Regions from separate parts of the Homo sapiens genome. Here region 1 is linked to region 2. The links are contacts of gene promoters, found by promoter capture Hi-C in blood cells and fetal thymus (Javierre and others, 2016). All regions are on one chromosome and are shown on one strand. Each heading gives the region's core, a stretch centred on a gene start or on the middle of the fragment in contact. The rest is flanking DNA. Distances are from core to core; before and after follow the strand shown.

Region 1 (4,066 bases), core at 286-2,785, 970 kb before region 2:
CCTTCTTTTCCTTCTGGGAAGAGCCACATTCATCCTTTCATATAAACAAATGTACATATGTTTGTAAACATACATACATGTAAATGACAATCCCTGAGTTAAGTTTTCTGGATAGAGAGATAAATAAGGTATGCCTGGCCTTAGAATTTCTCTGAGTGGGAAATTCTGAGGGAAAAAGGACAGACATTCCTAACAATAGTTAAAGTGTTAGGATCTAGAAGCACAAGGGAGGAAGCAAAAAATCAAAGAAGACTTCCTGAGGCTGAATAGGAGTTATACTGTTAGGCAAGGGAGGGCATTCCTGATGAGGAAACAACATCAAGACCGTGCAGTAGGAAAGTCATGGCATGTTCAGAGAGTGGGGAGAAATTTGGGGTGCCTTGAATGTCAACTGAGGAGAGAAGGAAGCATCTAAAGAGAAAAGTCCTATGTTGAGTAGTCCTGGATGCCAGGCTAAGGTGTTTGAACATGGTCTTATGAGGATGATTGTCATTGAGGGTTTCAAGTTGTGAAGGTGACAGGATAGGGCAACTGTTTCAGAACAATCTCATGTCTGACATGGAGATTAGTCTTGGGAAATAGTCATGGAGCTCCCCTTTGGAGAGAATGAAAGTCTAGGATCCCATTCTGGGCAGTGCTGAGGCTCCAGGCGGGAATTCAAAATATGTGTTTATGATCTTTTATTTTTTTCACGATAATAACTATACACAATGTGTTTGGGATGTACTCCATTAACTGGGTGAGTCTGGGAAAATGATTTAATCTCTCTGTGTTGTGGGTACCTTATCTATAAAATGAGCATAATAATATCTCCAAATAATATAAAGAAATTTTATGACAACTAAGTGAATTCATACTTGTGAAGCCATTAGAACTTTGGCAGGCACACAACCCTCAATATTATTGAAAGTTTTATGCTGTCATCATCGTCGTCATAATCATCATCATCATCATCATCATCATCACATTTTTAGGGCACAAAACCAGGCTTTGAAATATATTTAATGATATTGCATCTTTTGACTATCCCTGTGGAGTGGGTAGCACATTTTCCTTCATAGACAGAACAGAGTTTTGAGAGGTTGAGAGAGTTGCCCAATGTCACCGGAATCAATAACAGGCTTGCAATCTCAATTCATATCTTCTTCTGCGTTTTCAGCCATGAACACTTACACCCACTCTCAGGCCAGGACATTGTTCTATGCCCTACCTGGAATGTGAAAGGCCTTGGAAATTATCAACAATTTGAACTCTGCAATATCTCGGTCAGTACCTTGGACAGTGATGGGCATTCTTAAAGAGTTAAGCACTTAAGTCACAGAGCAACATTCCCCTAATGTTCATTCTAGCATAACCACTATCAGCCTTACCACAAATTAAATAGCATCTTCAGGGGGAGTCTGAATGCCTCCTTACTCACTTTATAATTCCGCAAGACATCCCCCCAGTCTACACTCTTCTTGTTTATCTTCAAGGCTAGTTTTTTGTTCTGATCACAGTGGGAAATATGTGCCCAGTTACTGAGCAGTTAATAAAGGCCAAAACTCATTTTCTCAAGAAATAGCGGTAAGATTAAAGCTGCAGAGTATAAGGTATCCTTCATTATTCAGGAAACAGGCATATGCTTGAGGGAGGATGGGGCTGGGAGGAAGATATGAAGGAAAGGGTGAAAATTACAAAACATGTTGGCAAACTCATGGGTTAGACCATTAAGATTACAAATCCAAAAATTCCATCTGATGGATTTCAGGGCCAAAACATGAAGACCAAGAAGAGTGAATCCCTTCAAATAAGCCCAAACAAGCCCTTGTTCTAAATGTCTTAGACTAAGATCAAAGGACCCCAACAAGGTCTTCCAATGACTTAACTCAACCTCTACTGAATCCAGAATTCTCTTCTTTGATGTCCTTCTCAGTGAAACTAAGGAGGATTCACAGATGAACAATATAAATGGAGCAGTCTCTCTCTGTAGCATCTCTTATTAATGTTCAGCATTTGGACTGGTTCTGGCCACCAGGAGGCTGTTTGGATGCTCCTGGTGGTCTGGTGGAGAAAGAACCCAAGCTAGAAGCTGGAGACTTGGGCATGATACCAATTTTGTCTGTTACCTGAGCCAGTTCTCTATCTTTTCTGGGCTTCAGCATCTGTATCTGTCAAATGCAGATAATACCTACCTTGGTTTCTTTGGTGGAGTGTGTGTGTGTGTGTGTGTGTGTGTGTACGTATGTGTGTGTCCACATGTAATCATAGATTGAATGATATAAGCACTTTGAAAAAGTAAACCCAAAAGTGTATAGTTCCCTTGTTTAGCTCTGATCACAGATAACTTAGCAATTATCTGTTTATATGTATTTCTTTCCCAAATGACAATGTGCTTCTTGAAGGTGGGGTCTGTATCTCATTCATCCTTGACTTTTTAGCACCCAAAACAGCTTCTTGTACAGACTGGTCCTCGCTAAATATTTGTGGAACAAGGGACAGGATAACCAAATAGTGTAGAGCACAAGCTCTGCATTAGAAAAGCAGGGTTATGTCTTGACTCTGTCACATCTCAGCAATGTGACCTTGGGCAAATCTTGTAACCTCTGCCATCCCCAGTTTCCCCATCTGTAAAAGGGTGCTGGCCACCTCAATGGGCCATTGGGAGTAGTAAATGAGGACATGAATATAAAACATTTAGGAGAGCTCTTGGTATCTAGTCAGTGGTCAAGAAACCTTAGCTAACATATTTATCTTCTGTATTCTAATTTTTGTGTTGTGAGCCATGAAGGGTGTCATGAAGGAGCTTAACCACTAAGTGAGCGCTCTGTCATTTTTTGTGTGATTATCCCAAATCTATTGCAATCTAACTGCTTTGTCTACCAGTGGATATACAGAAATAGCCATGACAGTCTCCAGGTGCTGTGGAAAGGTGGGCAGATGACAGTTGGCTCTGTTGTTGTTCTGCTTAGCAACCCCATACCAATTGCTTTCCATCTCCCAGCCTTGGTTTCCCTAGGTAAAGAAGTAGCAAGAACTGATTTCTGAACTCATCCCACTGTTTCTAAGCACCTTGAATAATCTCTGTGCTAAAAAGAGGTCATCCTTTCAGAAACCCCTGCAGCTGCTCCCAGGGAGGATGTTGGCGACCCAGTTCAAACCCAGGATGCCTGAAAGACACAGTTCAAAGCTGAAACAGAGACATGCACTCCGCATTTCATTTGAGGACATCTAAGTGGGAGGGCTCTCCTGAATCACACCCTCATCACCCCAGGGAGTCATTTTACCTGAGTAATACATTTTCCTGAACTGGGTACTCGCTCTTTAAAGGAAGTCATCAGTGGCTGTAATTCAACAAGAAGACCATTGGTGCTATACTGAAAAGTAACTAGAATCCATTTTCTTTCGAGAAATAGGATGCCTGCTTAGGGAATTGAGAAAAAAAAAAAAGCGAAGTAGGCTCTTCTTTACCTCCTTCACAAATTAGACAGAGCATGCAAATCTCGAGGCATCAGCAGTACTGGAAACTGGGGTCTCTTTGTATAGCCTCAGCAGGAACTGAGGATATACCAAACGACACTTGAGAGTTTTGGCTCAATTGCGGCTTTGCCGTGAACCAGCTATGTGACTTTGCGCACATCCTTTCCTTTTCCTGAGGCTGGGACTCAGTTGTCTACTCTGACACTGGCTTTTTCTGTCCTAACACAAAAGTAAGTAAGAAGAATTGTCCAGGATGGGTCAAATGCCCCTACTGTGAGTCCAGTACTGATCTGGGTGCTGGAGATGCAATGTAGTTCCTACGTGCCTAGAGCTGATGTCTAAGGAAGCAGAGATATAGAAAAGTAAGTTAGAATAATATTGGCAGCAGGGTTGGAGGAAGCACAGATGCCTTGGGGGAGATGTGGGGAGGGCTGTGTGTGTGTGTGTGTGTGCATGTGTGAATGCATGTATGTGTAAGTGCAGGTGTGTGTGCATATGTGTTCATGTATGTGCTTGCATGTGCATGTATGTATATTTTAAGAGGAGTCAGAGAAGCTTTCCCAGAGGCTGGGTATCTAAACTAAACCATAAAGAAATAGAATTAAAA
Region 2 (4,495 bases), core at 1,015-3,514:
AGGCAGGAACCAGGATGAAATGAATGGATTATTTAGATAAATCATGTACAAGGTCAGAAAGACTAAAATCCTGCCCCCTCCCAGCCCCAGCCACGGATACTGCTGTTGTCCCAAACTCTTAAGTAATTGTCTGTGGCTTTAAAAAGTTTCTTCCCATAAAACGAATATTTAAGTGAAGTCCCTGAGTAAAAAGGGCGTGTGTGGGTTTTCCAGCTCATTGAAAATCTTTGAAGTGATGGTTTGAGAGGAAAGGTTTGGTTGCCACAAGAACTAATTTTTAAGCACCACAAGCTAAGAACGGCCACGCTCACCACACATTTACCAGCACATCAATGCACGATCATCCCCATTTCACAGAGGAGGAAATCAAGGCACAGAGAGGGAAGGAGTCTGTCCAAGATCACACAGCTGGGAAGCGGCAGAGCCAGGACTCAACCCCTAGGCAGGGGGTCCCTGGCCTTGCGTTTCGTTGACTTATCTGCAACACTGCACATGTTCCTATCCTAACTCTGCCTTTATCCTGCTCAGGCAGAGTATCTAGGCAAGCAACAGAGAGAGAGCATTCACAAGTGTGCAGATTCTGTGTGCCTGGCACTGTGCTGGGGGCTTGCTTCAATCTCATACCAAGGCCTTGGTTCTCCTCATTGGACACAGGAAGAAACTGAGGCTTAAGAATGGGTCAGGGCTCCTCAGCCAGGAGTCTGATTCAAGCTGTCAAGGCCAAGGCCAGCTGGTGCCTACCACCCAGTAGGGTGGCTACATGGGAAGGAGCCTGAAGCTTGAATGTATTTAGCATGTATTTACACTCTTGGTGGCATCTCGACGCAACACGGAATGGTTCTCTGCACCACCCAACTTCATTTATTCAACCAGCTGGAGAGGCCACTCCTGCCAGTGGCACCAACCTGTAACACAGGGTAAGACGCCTAGGGGATTCATGCCAATGCCCATGGTCACACCACTCCCCAGGGTGGGGAAAGAGGGATGCCAACAGAGCCTGCCTGTCACCAACCCCATACCCTGAGAGAGAACAGGAGTGACAGAGAAACAAACAGAGACAGAGCAAGGCAGAAAGACACATCACAGAGACAGAGATACACACAGAGGGAGACAGAATGAATGAGGGGCCTTCTTTCCCTGTGGCAAGTCACACCTTCCAGAGGTTGGGGAATCTGTCTCATAAATCCAAGCCCCACTAATTTGTTCTGGGCCACAAAGAAGCACAGACCCACTGTGAAGGAGACGTCCTGTGAACGAGACACGTGTCATGCCCAAGTGCTCGGCTCCTGCCTTGCATTTGCAACTGCCTGCTCTGGCTGCTGCGTGACCTGGGGTGAGTCACACCTCTGGGTCAGCAGAGGGGATACTGAGCCCCTGCACCTGGCAGGGCAGCTGTGAGCCCTGCCACCTCGAGTGTAGGGAGGGCCAGCTCAGGGCTCCTCCCTAAATGCTGGGTCCCTTAATGACTATAGCACTCCTGGCTAGGAGGAACCCAGAAAAAGGGGCTGGCTTAGCCCTTCGCCTGTCCTCAAGTGCTCCCATAAACTGGGCCAACACAGTCAGGTGGCAGAAGTCTCCTATGTGAAAATGGCAGGCCCTCTCTTTAGGCTCAGGTCTGGTCAGTGACCTGGGCAGCCCTGAATTAATTGGGAGGGTCTGGGGAGAACATCTGCTGGGAGCTGGACTGCAAAGAGCCGTGAATGGGGAGGTCAGAGCCTGGGGTTCGGGACCTGGCTCTGCCACTCACTCACTGTGCTTCCCCCACAGTAGGCACTTTCGCTTTCTGGGCCCAGTCCCACCTCTCCAAATCATCAGAAGGACCTTACGATTGTTTCTGCACTGTCGCCTAGCAGGACACAGGCCAAGGTTTTAATCATTAGCTGTCATTCCACCCTGCTGTCCCAATCCAAGCCCTCCCGAGCCTGCCTGAGTAAGAAATCAAGGCCTCCCTCCCTGGCCCACTCACACCAAACCCAAGGTTCACGGCCAGCGGGCAAACTCGCCCACCACACCTCGGTCTCCTAAGACCCTTTCCTTGGCAATCCAATGAAAGCTCGGTGGAACGACAAAAGCTACAACTCAGCGTGCACATGACACCGCCACTTGTGCTTCCTAGGAGGGTGAGAGGAGATGAGGCAGGTGCCACTAATCCACCCTAAAAATAGGGAGAAGGATGAGCTTTCGTGTCGGGGGTTGGGGTGTTCACACTTAAACATAAATCAACTGGCAAATTCAGCCCAACTCACGTGCTGGCCCTGTCCACACAGACGTCGACTCCAGCAAAAATGTCCTGACTGACTTCAGGAGAGAGGAATTATTGCTACGTGCCTCTTTCCCAGGTACAGGGGACAGGAAGTGCCTGGGCTTTGACTGACAACTATTCTGGAAGAAGTAACTTCCCCGGTTTGATGTCTGGGACCCCCTCCCTGGGAGGACTGGAGGGGAGGAGCTTTCAGTGTTGTTTTAATATTTTTTAAAACATAATAAGCTTACAATATCTGGCGGTTCCGAATCTGTATGCCTTTTCCTCAGTGAAGAAAATCTCTGTTGGCTGCGAGCAGAGAAGCGGCGGAAGGATTCCCGACTCCGGGAAGCCAGGTGTCGGAAGGAGGAAGTACGCTTGAAGGGGGTCCGGCTGGCCGACTCTGCACTCGTCCGTTCGTGGCCCACCGTGGTGGTCACCAAATTGAGGGCTTCCTGGAAGGACCTCCTCACGGTGCCCATCCACTGGGTCATGTGGGTCTGGGCCACTGTGAGTTTATCTCCCAGGTAATCCATGGGGCCAGCCAGGAGGAGAGGGAAGAAGGAAGTTAGGGAGGGAGAGAGCAATTAAAACGCCAGTGTCCTCTTGCCTCTTTGGACTCTTTTGCTCATGGAAGTTTTGGGCTTGCTTGGAGGAAAAAAAATTAAAAACAGCAGCTTTCTTCAGGCAAACCAAGGGTAAGTAAACATCCCTGAGCCAGGAGCCGGCTGCATCCACGGGTGCCGCTCAGAATTAAGAGGCAGCTAAGTGCCAGGCTGGGAGTCCACCCCAGCGGAGTTATAAAGTCAACACACTGGGCAGTCCAGGTTCCAGTTCCAGGGCTCACCCAGCTGATCGGCCGAGACAAGGAGCTTTGAGGAACAAGCCGGCTGCACTCACTCCAGGGCGTGACGGTCCCGAAAGGCGGGGGATGGGGATGGGGGTGGGGGTGGAGGGGGCGGCCTTTGGGCACCCTCGTCCTCACTTCCCTTCAGGTAGGCAGCCCCCCTGAGGTGCACCCTGGGAGGTTCCGGTGGGCAAGCTGCCGCACCCTGCTGCCCCCTGCCCGGCTGCCCTCGGCCAGACCCCGCTCACCTGACCCATGCAGGTTTTCTGTCCTCTGGCTGGAGATTCCAAACCTGTCGGCCGGCAGGCGGCTAGCTCACTTCCGGAGGCAGCCACCAGGGCCCCCGGGTCCCCTGGCTGAGCAGCCCGGGATGACATCAGCCCCCGTCTTAGCGAGGGGCTTCGCTGCCCAGGAATGCAGGAGGGGCCTCGGGGAGGCGGAGGCGGTGGCGGCGGCCGCCCAGGGAGCTGACGTCCGCCCCCATTTTTTTCTCCCCCAAGTCCCAACTCGCTCACGGTCCCTCGGGGCTGATGGCAACTTCACGTGCCTGCCAGCCTACCCACCCCTGTGCCCTCACAGCAAGCGCACCAGGAAATGCGGCTGCACGTGTGTGCATGTGTGTGCACTCTGTGTGTGTGTGCGTGTATGTCGGCGATCTGGCAGCCCCGGGAAGGTTAGCACTGCTGGGAAACGGCTTCTGCCTCTAAGGTTACAGGCAGCGTCTTGGGACCTCTGGTCGGCTGTCAGTCTGTCTCCCTCTCGTGGTCTGTTTCTCTGTTGATTTCTCAGCCTCGCTCTCCTCCCTCTCCCTGTGTCTCAACTTCCACTTGCTTGTCTCTAAGCGTCTCTCCTCTCTCTCTCCTTTTCAGCTGTCTCTCCCTCCCTCTCTGGAAGGCAACACTGATCCAGGTGAGACAGCCTCTGAGGTCCCCCAGGAAGGACTGGGGAGGGCTGTATTTCAGTACAGGCGGAGTTGCCATGGCAACCCGGGGCACAGCATCTGCCCTGTCCTGGGCAGCAGGCTCAGCACTGGGAGCAATGGGAATGATTCATGGTTTACACTAGGTCACGTGAGCTCCCTGGGTTTTAACCCTTACAGGGCTGGAGTACTAGGGGTTGGGGGTACGACTAGACCCTAACACCCACTGTCCTCGGCCAGGCCCCGCTCATCTGACCCATGCAGGTTTTCTGTCCTCTGCCTGGAGATCCCAAACATGTCAGGGGTTGTTAGAAGGGGGTGGGCAGCAGCTGGATCCTGGAGGTCAGGCACACCTGTTAAAGGAGGTTTCTCCTTCTAGCAGGGATCCATGTCCCCCCAACCCCACTACTTTTACAGACAAGGAAATGCAGATTCAGAGACATAGATTCACTTGCCCAAGGTCACACAGCAAGGATGTCACCAGGCA

What was found. Contacts are between HindIII fragments. The CHiCAGO score rates a contact against its expected background, and 5 or more counts as called.
Region 1: a contact is called between a fragment that was not itself captured here and the fragment with the promoter of KIAA1671-AS1 in region 2, in 1 of 17 cell types (total B cells). The highest score is 5.0, in total B cells.

What each region holds. Positions count from the first base shown.
Region 1 is chr22:26,076,414-26,080,479 of GRCh38, reverse strand. No RefSeq gene overlaps it. Among named protein-coding and RNA genes, the nearest start is that of LINC02559, 74 kb to the left of the region's middle. The HindIII fragment of the contact is 4,962 bases long and covers 1-4,016 here.
Region 2 is chr22:25,110,461-25,114,955 of GRCh38, reverse strand. It overlaps KIAA1671-AS1 (KIAA1671 antisense RNA 1), which reads left to right and starts at 2,264. Exons shown (of 5, transcript NR_038941.1): 1 at 2,264-2,339; 2 at 2,533-2,769; 3 at 3,959-3,998. All of the region lies in intron 6 of KIAA1671, which reads right to left. RefSeq lists enhancers at 2,585-3,446, 3,447-4,309. The HindIII fragment of the contact is 1,710 bases long and covers 781-2,490 here.